Linked DNA regions of Homo sapiens: regions 1 and 3 are each linked to region 2. The links are contacts of gene promoters, found by promoter capture Hi-C in human tissues and cell types (Jung and others, 2019). All regions are on one chromosome and are shown on one strand. Each heading gives the region's core, a stretch centred on a gene start or on the middle of the fragment in contact. The rest is flanking DNA. Distances are from core to core; before and after follow the strand shown. Region 1 overlaps MYRIP (myosin VIIA and Rab interacting protein). Region 2 holds the start of MYRIP (myosin VIIA and Rab interacting protein). Region 3 has its middle 36 kb from the start of MYRIP.

Region 1 (4,066 bases), core at 247-2,746, 38 kb before region 2:
TTCAGACTACCCAAAGCATCCTGGGAAATTTTTTTTCTTTCCTTATTCCGTCATCCATTGGTACTGGAATATGGGACCCCACTTTAGGATTACAGTGGACAGCGTGGTTTGGAAAGAGGACAAGGCAAGTTGTAGCCCATCATTTTGGGTCCTTTGTCCTTTCTGTCTGCTCCTACTTCAATGCTGTGGTTTACCTATATCTATATCCTATAGGATAGACAGATGTACCCTCTACATCCTAGTAATGTGTTCCATAGAATAAAAAATTCTCCTAGAGACTCACAGAACTGGAAGAATACATTAAAATGAATTAATTCCCTTCTTTCAAAATACGTTACTCCTGTGCACATTTGATACAGAGGTCTGAACATGCTATGGCATATTTTTCCTAGGTCTGCTCTTTTTTTTCCAACTCCTCCTTACCACAGAGATATAAATTATTAAAACTCACAATGTTTCCCTCTCTCGTGGCATAAAAATTTAGCAACACGTTTAGGGAAGAGGTCATCTTAATTGAAAATTCCAAGTTTTGTGCATTTGCCTTCAAAAATAAGGAAAAGTATCTATTAATCAAAATACTGATGAATCTCAAGTGTATAACATGTTTACATGTCTGACATGGATTTCTGATATACTTCACTTTTATTTCACCCTTAAATATTTGTCATCTGAAAGTACATGCTCATGAGAGCTCTTAAGTAGCTTAGCCTCCTTTCTTACATGTGTCATGCAGATATTCTTAGCAGTGTCATGTGACTATGTATGAACAATAATCAGTAGAACTTCCCTTACAAGGGAAAGGCAAGGCCTCTCCACTGAAATAGCAGAAAAAGTAAAGAGGAGTCAAAATAAGCAAAAGGAAACTATTTAATATCCTACTTTCTTTCTTAAAAATGAGTGTAACTTATTAAAGGGGAACACAGAACTCTGTATTTTGATAAATGATTGAAGTATTAGGCTTGTATTCTGGTTTATTTTAAAAAAATAAAAAGTACCTTTCCAATTTTATGCAAATACAGTACAATCATTCAATGACATATGAAGCAGCCATTAAGAATATCTATAATGAGCATTTGCAATAGCATGAGGAAACATTTAAATGATGCTGAGTAGGAAGGCAGGATACAACACTACACCCGTGTGGCTCCAACACTGCAGAGAAACTTATCTGTGAGGCTCAGCTGGGACTCACAGTCTGGCGTCTATAACACTAGAAGGCTGCTCATTTGTTCTTCTCCACTCCTAACCCCACCAGCATGTTGGAGGAAGCTTTTGCAGTACCCTCTAGCCTTCAACGGTATTACAATTTTGGAGGGCAGGAAGGTGCTTACGATGAGTATCAGTCAGAGCAGTTCTTCAGAGAGCTGTGTGATTGCTGCAGCCCTAATCATGCCCAGGTTTACTCATAAACATAGAGAAAGACTCAGAGAAAGACTGGGATTCAGGGAAATCCTTGGGGGGTGAGGGGGATAACAGATAACATGGTCCTGCATGGAAACTACTAAGGCAGCAAACGCTACTATGAACTCCAGCCAGAGAGGCTCAGGGAGGGCATATATGGAAGCATTCATACAAAAGAAGGAATGAGTTTCCAGAAATACAGTAGATGAGGACAATGCCACTGGAGAGAGGAGGCCAGGCAGCCAAGAGGCCTGGGCCTTAAAAGGATCATCTCTGTGGGTATCAAAATCACTGAGAATTAACCCAGAAGCAGTGCCATCAAGAAAAGAAGGTAAAGAACTATGACCTGTTGAGGTACTTGTTGAGAGCAAGGAGCATATGGGCTTGCTAGTGGAAGAGGGTAGTTATGAGTACCAGCTATGACTATACAACCAGTTACAGAAACAAGAAGTGTAACTATCATGAGTATTTCTTCCTTATTTTGTTATGAACATGAAGAGAAGAAAACAAATACCTTTGTTTTCTTCTCTTTCTTACCTCCTTATCATGTACTGACTTTATAGCATAGCATTTAAGTAGAGTTAACTTTACATCACAGTATTTAAAGTTATGGGATACACAAGAGTGAACATCATCCAAGACTTTGCATCCTCTTCTGGGGAAAGGGTTAGTGAGTTTTCAGTTGCATGCAGGATATCTTTATCATAAAAGGTGGAAGTATGACCTTGTTATTGTCTTTATTTGGAGATTAAGTATGGGTTAAAGAGATGCATATGGTTGCCAAGTTGATAAAGGATGGACCTGTGATTATTAATTTCATGTGTCAACTTGCAGGGTGTTTTTGGATGAGCTTGGCATTAAACTTTGAGTAAAAGAGATTGCCCTGCTTAATGTGAATCAACCTAACTCAGTTGGTGCAAAGTCTGGATAGAACAAAAAGAATGAGCTCCCTGAGCAAGAGAGGATTCTCCAGCAGACTGCCTTCAGATTTCATATGCACAATTTGCTCTCCTGGGTGTCCACCTGCTAGCCTTCCAATGGGAACTTTACCATCAGCTCTCCTGGGTCTCAAGCTGCTGGCCCACACTGCAAATGCTGGACTCACCAACCTCAATAATCATGGGATCCAAGTCTTTAAAATAAATCTATTTCTATAAATATGCATATTGTATTGATTCTGTTTCTCTCAAGAACCCTAACATTAATCTTAACAGAATTAGAGGAAAGGATTTAGGGATCAGCAGGGAAGTGCAATAAGGGAGGAAAGTAGATAATAGCATCTGATGACACAGTTTTTGTTTTGCTATATAGAGGTGGCAGCCTGAACAACTTCAAAGCAACAATGAGGAACAAGGAAGGCACTTCTAACACCTGCAGGCCCAGTGGTAGTTGGATAGAAACAGCATCTACTTGGGAGAGAGAAAGGGAAGGAAATGAAATGCACATCTGGGAAGATGATCCAGGGGATACTGCTGATGATCAACCTTCACAGCCCTCATAGGGAAAAGGAAAGGTGGGAGACAGGGTCAGACGAAGGAGTGTACATAGGTGAGTGGGGATCAGAGTCCAAGGGAATGCAGGGTGATCTAGGAGACCTGGGATTCTTGTGGAAATTAATGAACTAAGATTAAAGGAATGATAACATTGGCCCTGATGGTACCAAGGCAGATGGTGTCTGCAAGCTTTGATGACTGGGATAGGAGAGAGGAATGAAGCTTTTCCAAGAGTTGAGAGAGTTCAGGGGACCACCTTTGTTAACTCCTGCTGAACAGTGGGAACTCTTCCAACTTCTATGCTAATCGCCATCCATGTTGTCATTTTAAATGCTTCAAAACAAAGTTTTCCAAAATGTGCATATATTTTAATTTCTAGTAACTCATTTAGAAGGCACAAAATTTATATTTGATCTGCAAGTTCTAGAATCATTCTGTGACTGCAGGAAGGTCATCTCATTTTGCAGTGAACATAAATAATTGAAATTTGATCTAAGTGTTTTTACCTGTTCATTCAGTTTCAGGTGACTACTGGAAGCATGAATTTTTTTTTTTTTTTTTTTTGGTAGGGGAAAGTTCTTTGTAATGGACCTAGTGCTGCAGGGCAACTGCTCTTGCGCTGACTGGAAAAGGCCTGCCTGGATCAGTATCTGTGCTTAGAAAAAAAGTGGGTGACAATTCCCTTATCATCCAGGAGTCCCTTGAGCCCCCACCTCCAGTCAATTACTAGTAGATAGATGGCATTTATTTGTTGACTGATTTATTGGAAAGCAGACTATTAAAAATAACTCTTGCAAAATTTCAAGTCCTGCCACAGTGATGTTACTAAAACAATGTCAACTATTCGTACTAAATAAGATACGCAAAGTGCCCAAAAAGTGCCTAATGCTCAGTATATGACTTTGAAACTGAGGGATACATTCTATACCTAAATAGAAAAGTACCCCAACTATAGCTTTCAATAATTGAAAAGCAGACAGAAATATAGATAATTTAAAAAATGAGAAAATAAAATGTATATAAATAGTAAATTCCCAAATGAGGGGTATTTTTTAAATATGTGGTAAAAAGCCAAATTCCAAACCAGCTGCCACTGAACTTCACACCAACCATCCCAAGGGCATACATCTGTGCCCAAAGTAAATGTCCAAATCAGCCCAGCAGCACCCCAT
Region 2 (4,536 bases), core at 1,310-3,809:
CTGGGTCTTAATCAGGGCACTGGTTACACAGGTGTGCTCAGTTGTGACAATCCACTGAGTGTATCCTTCAGAACTGCATTATTTTCTGGAATTATACTTCAACAGACTGTTAAATTCACCAAGGTCTGATCAGTCATCTCCCTTTAACTTGGCTTTCCGGCAAGAGTCTGTGCATACACAATAATAATTCGAAGGCAAAATCAGGGGGAAGCCTTGTTTTCTACGGGATATTTTTCAGCCATCGGGAATCCCTCTGGGCAGGGAGGAAGGAGATAGAACATAATCTATGCTACCGCTAGTTTAAATGACTGAGCTGAGTATGGCTAACACTTCACTTTCTCAAAAGTGAACAAATTCTGCAGCCGGATAACTCTCCCTTCTACCACCATACACGCAGACAAACGAAACCCAGACCACACAGAACACTGCGCCACCAAGAGATACACACCATCTCTACAGAGACACACTTTGACTCCTCAGAGACAACACACACACACACAGCCTCCCCCCACTCTCCAGAAACAGTCCCACAGACACAGCTTCTGGCCCACAGAGACAGCTCGCAGATGGAGGTAGTGGTGGGTAATTAGGAGAGACGCAGCTGCCCATGGCCAGGCAAAGGAACGTGAGCAGGAAGATGGAAAGCAGTATCTTCAAAGTCTTGGGAAACTAAATTTCTCTAAAAAGATTTTGAAATCTGCAAATAGGGTCCCAGATATTGCTGTAAAATTTTTTAAATTACCTCCATTTCCACCGTAGACCCAGATGCCTTGAACCATCTTCCTTCGACTTTTTAATAAAACCCCAGTGCATTTTCACATTTATCATATCCTATGAACTCCAAGTTCCTTGGGAAGATTGAAAGGCGGCGGGGATTATTTCATTTTATAAATGAAAAAGTTCAGGTTCAAAGATGCTGGTCAGTCATCACAAAACTAAGTATTGATCTCATGGCTGAGTTTCAGAGTTGGGGTGGGGGAGGCTGAGTTGAAGGGACAAGGTGATAATGGCAAGAGAGGCTAGGTGACGCTCTCCCCAGCCCAGAGCTCTGAGAAGCGCCCACAACACCACAGGCGGCCCCACTGGAGCCACCTCAAAGGACCTGGAGTAAAAGAATCACACCCGACATCATTTGCATACCCCAAGACTGGCCAGCCCCCAGTCTCAGTCTTCCTCCCCTGAGTAAGTGTCAAGAAAATCAACAAATCGAGATCATGGTCGGGGAGATGGAGAGCATGGAAATGAAGCCAGACTCAAGGCATTTTCTAGGAGCGGATAGGAGCCAACGTTAGCGAACCAAGCCCACAGCGTACTCGCTTCTCTTAGGAAGTCCCTAGGCCCAAACCAGTGTGTGCATTTAAGAGTTTTGGGATACGTACTTATCCTTGGGGACGGTGCTTATTTGGCAAAAGAAAAGAGGAGCAGGACGGATATAAGAACAAATTCCCCTACCCTGCCAAGACGTCAGTAAATTAAGGAACAAGAAGGGGAGCAAGTGCTCCAAAAAGCCGCAGGTCTTGGGGTTCCCACCACTGAATCTTTCCGCTCCACGCGTCCATCAGGAAGATCCTCCGCCGTTACCTCCAAATCTATGTAGAGCCCCCTGGGATTGGCTCCCTACCTCTTCAAGTCTGGCGGCTGTGGCGGAAAGGGAGTATGAGGAGGAACCCGGGATGAAGCTGAAGTGACCGCCCCGCCAACAGCTCTCCCCTCCCCAGGCAGCCCGCGGGCGAGGGCCAGACGCAATCCACCTGTGTTCTAACTCTGAGCACCAGCTGTGACCTTGAGAGAGTCCCTGATTACCCCCGTTTTACAGAATTAAGAGTTTGAGTCAGGTCCGTCGCGCTGGGCTGCTTGCGGGGCGCTTAACGGATGGTTTGAGGCGTCCCGCCGGTGCGCCCGCAGCACAGTAGGTACGCGGTGAACCGCAGCCCAAGCACTACGTGGCCATCCGGGATCGGAAAACGCGAGGGAAACGCAGAGGCGAGCTCCCACCCCAGCAGCGAGAGAAAGAGGCGATTCTGGCTCCGCGATGATCCCTGAGCAAGTTCAAGTACCCGCGCCCCTCGCCCCTCCGCAGAGGCTGACTGGCCGCGCCTAGGGTTCCTGGCTCCGGACGCGCACAGGGTGCGGGGGAGCGTGAGAGACACCTCCACACCTTCACACACCCACCCCCGAAGTTGCGGCAACGTTGAGGGGAGAGTGGCGCAAAGCTGCCAGAGGGGAGAAGAGGGAGGCGGACGGTACTCACGGGGGGTGGCCAGCCTGAAGCAAGTCCGCGACCGGGGTCATCGATGGCGGCCGGGCTCAGGCCACCGCGCCTCAGTACGCCCAGGGCACCTGCCGCAACGCGCCGCGTGGATTAGAGGCTGCCGGCGGCGAAGAAGGGGCGCGGGTCGGTCTGCGCGCTAAAGCTGGGCTGCAGCACCGCGGGGGCTCGGCTGCCAGAACCGCAGCCGCAGCGGGAACCCGGGAACCGACAGGAGGCGGGAGCGCAGCGGCGTCGGCAGCAGCGGCTGCGAGGGAGGCGCCCGCGCCGCAGGCAGCCAGGGCCAGCCTGGCCGCAGCCACCGCCGACACCTGCTGGCCCGGCCGAGAGCCAATCAGAGGCGCCCGGAGCGGGGGAGCCTGCGGAGGCGGGGCGGGGGCGCGTGCAGGGCGCCCGGCGGGAGGGGCGGCCCGCGATCGCGCCTGCGCCGGGGCAGGGGGTGCCCGCCGGGCCGGTTCCTCCAGAGCACCTCGGGCGCGCGGGCGGCACGCGCCGGGAGGGGCGGGGCGCACCGGGAGGAGGCGGGGCAGGGCTGCGCGCGCCCGGGGCGGGGACCCGCGCCCCTCCCGGGGCTCTTCCCTGCGGCGCAGTGCAGTATTGGGGCCGCGGTTCGGGAGCCCCCATGTGCGACTCCAGGTCCTTCCCCGATTCTAAGTCAGGCTTTTCCTGTCTCCTGCCTCTGAGTCCTGGGGGCCCGGACCCTCAGTGACCGTAGAGTAATGGGTCACCAGAATCCGGGGCCTGCCTGAATCTAAGACATGGTGTGGCGCTCCTCCACAGACAGCTCTTCCCCACTTCACAGTCCCTGGGTAATTAAAGTCTCCGTAGTGACCCCTATCTGGATTGCTTTAATTCTCCCATAAATTTACTACTACGCTAACGACGCTCATTCATTCAACACACATCAAAGGGGTTACCGATCAGGGAGCTGTCCAGGCTAATGCGCCCCCAAGTCTCCCAAACACAGCTGCGGAACCGCCGGGTTAGTGAGCCCGCGCTGTCAGAAAGACTCCCAAAGACTGCTGCAAGTGAGGAACGCTTTCGGGCTCGTGCCAGGAGTTCCCGGTCCTGGAAGAATGACTGGGAGTTGAAAGGTTCCACTCCAGGCCGGGACTTCATTGTGCGTTTGCATCCATTAAGCCAGGGATCTTCCTGAGACCCACTGCCTCAGCCCCAACAACTCGGCTGTGAAAACACTTTGTCAATTTTAGCTGCAGGGTGGAAGTCGCTCCATGAAAATAAAGCATTTATGGAGTTACACTGGCGATTTCTGAATCCCTGGAAATCCTCTCAAGCCGGTGGGTTGAGGCTGTTCTCTCCGTGTAAATGTGCGCAGTAGAAATAAATGGCTTGTTTGCTGATCAGTCCACAGCAGAAAACAAAACAAAACAAGACAAAACCTTAAAGAAAGGAACTCGGAAGGTAAAGGAGTTAATTTCTTTAAAGATTCGATTCCCTCCTTTAAAGGGATTTTAATGTCTACAAACTGGTAAAGTGGAAGGAAGTTAGTTTGTTTCTCTTTTGTTTACATTAAATTTAAATTTTATTTAGCTGTGCTTGATTAGCATTCATGTGGCACAAAATTCTAAAACTACAAATGGAACACAGTTAACAAGACTCCCTCCCACCCTTGTCTCTCAATTCCTCTTCCTGGGGGCAACCAGTGTGTACCTCCCTCAAGGAAATTGACATATACACAAACATATTTGTCTAATGCTCTTATTTTTATTTTTGTTGTACAAACTATGCACATTGTTTTACATTTTGATCTTTTCCCTTAACAAGATATTATCGTGGAGTCATTCCATATCATTACCAAAAACTTTTTCTTGTTATTTTACAGCTGTATGATATTCCATTGAATAAGATATGCCAAAATTTATGTAAGGGCCCCCAATTATGGGCATTTAAATGGTCTCCAATCTATCACTGTTAATAACAATTATGCATGAATAACTTTGTTCCTATGTAACTGTGTACGTGTGGGGGTACATATGAAGAATAAATCTGTACAACTGGATCATGGGGTCAACGGTGATGTGCATTTGTAATTTGGATAATGTCAAATGCCCTTCATAGAGATATAAACTCATGATCTCACACAAGGTATGTGAGTGCATATTTCACACACCCACCCCTCTGATGGTTCTGAGCCTGTTAGCTCTCATATCCATTCCTAGTCCTTCCGACTCTGCTTCATGGGGGGCTTCATTTCCCAGACTCCCCTATCAATTGGCCGATGGGACTCAGCAGTAGGAGAATAGGAG
Region 3 (4,370 bases), core at 1,342-3,841, 36 kb after region 2:
AGGTTTTCTGTACTAAGATATATAAATCTTGGTCAAATAAATTGTCAGAAAATAAGTATTTGTCTGACTTACTGTCCTTGCTTATTTCTGAAATTACAGGGACAGTAATTATGTTAAAGAGAAGATAACAGAAACTCTTTTATATATGTATGTATGTATCTATCTATCTATATTTCTAATCTACCATCTCTTCTCTACTTTTAAGAGTTGCGTAGTATTCCGTATACTCATGTTCTTATTTTAAATTTTCCTTTTTATAGACATTTAGATTGTTTTCAATTTCCAGAATAATATTTTCCCTTTTATGGACATTTAGATTGTTTGCAATTTTCTGAACCAAACTTTTAATTAGCTTTCTGTACATCTATTCAAGAGTGAGAGCATTCCTCTAGACTGTATTCCTAATTGTTCAATTGTTGAATATAGAATATTCCAAGTTAATATCCTGATATATATTTCAATTACCTTCTAAAAATGTTGCACTAATTTACATCCACTGGCTATTTCAGTTCCCATGTCCCCAGATCTCCATTATTAGCATTCCTTCAATTATTTGCTAGTCTGATGTTATCTTTTTGTTTTGATTTGCATTTTTCTGATTTTTCAAAACCTTCTCATAGAAATATTGGTCATGGATACTTCTCTCTGTGTTTGTTTCCAAGTTTATAAACTTTGTCCAGTATACTAGATTGTTTACTTTTCTCTAATTGATTTGTGGAAGCTCTTTATATATTTTGATTACATACATATAATTGTTAATATTATGTAATGTTATAACTTTAGATATTACATTATGTGATGACTTTATTACAATGCATATTGTAAATATTTCAATTCTGTCACTGTATTATATTTGTGGTGGGGTTTTCTAGTACAACATTTTATCCAAGTAATTTTTATCATTATCAAGCTTGTTAAAAAAAACTTTTATCTTCAAATAATTTTAGATTTAGAGAAAAATTGCAAAGATAGCAAGAGACTTCCTGTGTACTCTTAACCTAGCTTCTCCTAATGTTAACATATTATACAATCATTAAACATTTGTCAAAAGTAAGAAATTAACATTTCTTATGATACTATTAACTAATTTACAGATTTTATTTGAATTTCTTCAGTTTTCATACTAATGTACTTTCTCTGTTCCAAGATTTCATCTAGCATACCATGTTACATATGGTCATCATGTTTCATTTTTCTCCTATAATCTGACAATTTTTAGTGTTTCCTTGTTTTCATGACCTTGACACTTTTGAACAGTACTTGTCAGGTGTTTTGTGGAATGTTCCTCAATTTGGGTTTGTCTGATATTTTCTCATGATTAGACTGATGTTACGGATTTGGGGGAAGATCATGACAGAGGTGAAGATGTCTCCTCATCACATGATGACTTATAGTCATGTTGATATTATGTACCCTCAGATACGATGTGATAACTGGTGATGTTAACCTCGATCACTTGGTTAAGGTAATGTCTGCCAGATTTCTCTGCTTAAAGTCACTGTTTTCCCCCTTTTCATTCTCTATATGTCAGAAGCAAGTCATTAAATGTAGCCCACACTTAAGAAGAAGGAAATTGAGCTTCACTTCCTGGATCGGGGAGAAAAATCTACATTTATTTGATTTTTTTTTTTTTGTAAAGACATTTTATCCCTTCTCCTCTATTTATTTATTCATTCAATTGTTTATTTGTGTTGGCATAGCTTTATAAATATTTGTTTTATTCTTTGAGTTATAATCCAACTTATTCAAGAAATTGGAATTTTAGTGTTTTCAAATTTATCAACCTTTTATCTTCTGTCTTCGATTCTCTTGAATATCTAGGCACAATGACATCCACAGATAGCTTAACCTATTCAGAAAAATATTTACATCTTATAACTCTATTTCTTGTGTTATTGCAAAGGCAATGGTATGTGTAATAATCTTGAACATTAGAGAGTTGACCTGTATATCTTATTCTTTCTCTTTATGCTATTTGCTCTTAGTTACTATAGGTAACTTTCTTAAGTGAAAGTAATTTTTCGACATCCCTCATTAAAGAGGTAACTTACTCTTTTGCAATTGAGAAGTCACTTACAGGAAAAAAAGGAGATAATTGGAGACCATGTGAATATGTTGTTTCCCCAAAAGTTTTTACCTAATGGTGTTAGCATCCACTGATAATTCTTGCCTAAATCAATTATTACATTGGAGTTGTAAAATGATTTTCCCTACTATTATTATTCTTTCTAAATCTATTAGCTAGTGTTTTTCTATAAAACGTGAGGCTTTTTTTTCTCTTATGTTTCTATTTTGGGGTATCACTGTATCTTTTAATTCAGCATGTTCTAATTGATTATTGTCATTATTTTATTTAGTACTCAAATTGTACCATAATTAGCCCATCATGCTCCTTTAAGTTAGCTCTCATGTCTGTTTATCATGTCTCTATCAGATTTTGAGCATCCTTTCACTTTCTGACACAACATGTTCAGGGGTCATCTTGTATTCTCCCAGCTCCTGTTGTGCAACAAACCATTTTCCAAGGACCATTGGTTTCTTTTATTAGAGAATGGTATTTAGAAACCAAGATCTGGGCAGTTGGTGTGCTCACTGCTACTATTAATACTTTGTCATGGCTTCTAGACTCTCAGTAGACAGAGCTAGAAAATATATGTATGTACATGTAAATGTACACACATTTCTATTTGTCTGTCTGTCTCTATGTTATATATCATGAGTTTGTGCCAATAATAAAAAGAAACTTTCAATTTCAATCCAGCACCACAGATTTCATTTTAGCTTCCTCATTCTCAATATATTTACTTATCTCAAAATTACAATGCATAAAAAGTAGTTTTAGAATTGCTAACACGTACCACTATGGGGAAAAAAACAAACTTTGCTAACTATAGTTCAGTATTTCTTTACGGTTCTTTTTTAGCTTACTCTGAAGGCATATAGTCAAAATACTGTGTTTAAAAAGTTACTTGGGTGAGTTCTTCTTATTTTCACCTTCAGTTTAGTGATGCTATTCATTTGGAATACAGTTAGATATATTTCTTTTTGTTTGCATTCATTATAGGGTTTCCTCTCTCATCCTTGTAAATATTTTAATTTTATTTTTTATTTCTATAAAACACAAACATGACTCCAAAGATGAAATTACAGCAAACCAACTAATCAGAGAAGTATTGCCTCATGCTCCCCAACCCTTCTACCCCATTCCCATTCATATCCTTGAGGTAACCAATTTTGTTAGTTTTTGGTTTGTCCTTCTTGTCTGTACTTTTTCAAAAATGAGCAGGTACACGTACAATGTCTTCTTTCATTATTTCTCTTGCAAAAAGGTGCTGTACTATATCTACTCCTTTCTTTTATTCACCTTAACAATAGTCTATCACTACATTATTGTTATTAGTGCTTCCATTTCAAAGCCTAGGCTCAGAAAGTTAAGTAACTTTTCTTGGCTCACAAAGCCAAGTGGTAGAACTAGGAAAATGGACTTGCACTCTGATACTTTTTCTTCTGATCTTTTCTATTTTTTGTAATTAATTTGTAATTCTCAAATTAGAGTTAATAGGTAAAAATGATATTTACATTTTTATTTTCTGGAAATATCACTGCTTCCCAGAAAGTAAATCCCAGCTTTGTTCAGAGCAGTTGATGATATGTTTAATGAGCATTTGGTGTAGCTCTAATATTTCCTGTTGTGGCACAGCTTACTGCTTCAAGTTTATTTTTTGAGAGTTGAAAATACTTTGCAAGATTATTTGCTTCCTTACCATCCCACACTCCTTCTGTGTATTCCTACTTTAGGATTCTCAGCTAAGATGCATATTGCCTTTAAAATCTTTACAATTTAATGTATTAGAGAGTTGACTTTACCACCAAAATCATAGCAAGTAATCATTGTATGATTTCTTCCTTTTTAAAAAAATATTCTAGCAGTTCAAAAAATTATTTTTTGGTTCTATCTACAGAGAGGTACACATGTGGCAACACTATATTTTACTAATATACAAATTCACCTAAAATACCTATCATCACGGAAATAGTTTGAAAAGGGAAGAATAACCCAGTCAACTTGAGTTTGAGTAGCCACCTTTCAGAATACTGATCAATTTTTCTTTCATTCAGCTTTTGAGCTGATGCCTTCCTTTCTTCACTGTTTAGCCCCCAAAGACCCCAATACAACAATATTAAGCCACTGTAAATATAAAGTTTATCTCTGGAACTAAATGTGACAACATGGTCCCACCTGAGTCATGGCAGAATTTTCTCAACTGTCAATATTGGACACACCTAGATGGGTCCTTTTGGTGAATAAACAAACTGAGAAAAACCACATGTAAAAAAGGGTTAGCAATTAAAAGAAAGCAGACCAATCT

What was found. Contacts are between HindIII fragments. The study calls those that stand out against the background at their distance.
Region 1: a contact is called between a fragment that was not itself captured here and the fragment with the promoter of MYRIP in region 2, in 3 of the 25 tissues and cell types used here (bladder, pancreas and small bowel).
Region 3: a contact is called between a fragment that was not itself captured here and the fragment with the promoter of MYRIP in region 2, in 4 of the 25 tissues and cell types used here (hippocampus, pancreas, psoas muscle and 1 more).

Annotation. Positions count from the first base shown.
Region 1 is chr3:39,845,245-39,849,310 of GRCh38, reverse strand. The region is part of intron 1 of MYRIP (myosin VIIA and Rab interacting protein); the gene reads right to left. Among named protein-coding and RNA genes, the nearest start is that of MYRIP, 38 kb to the right of the region's middle. The HindIII fragment of the contact is 6,157 bases long and covers 1-4,066 here.
Region 2 is chr3:39,807,632-39,812,167 of GRCh38, reverse strand. It overlaps MYRIP (myosin VIIA and Rab interacting protein), which reads right to left and starts at 2,559. Exons shown (of 17, transcript NM_015460.4): 1 at 2,252-2,559. The HindIII fragment of the contact is 15,982 bases long and covers 1-4,536 here.
Region 3 is chr3:39,771,333-39,775,702 of GRCh38, reverse strand. No RefSeq gene overlaps it. Among named protein-coding and RNA genes, the nearest start is that of MYRIP, 36 kb to the left of the region's middle. The HindIII fragment of the contact is 6,388 bases long and covers 1-4,370 here.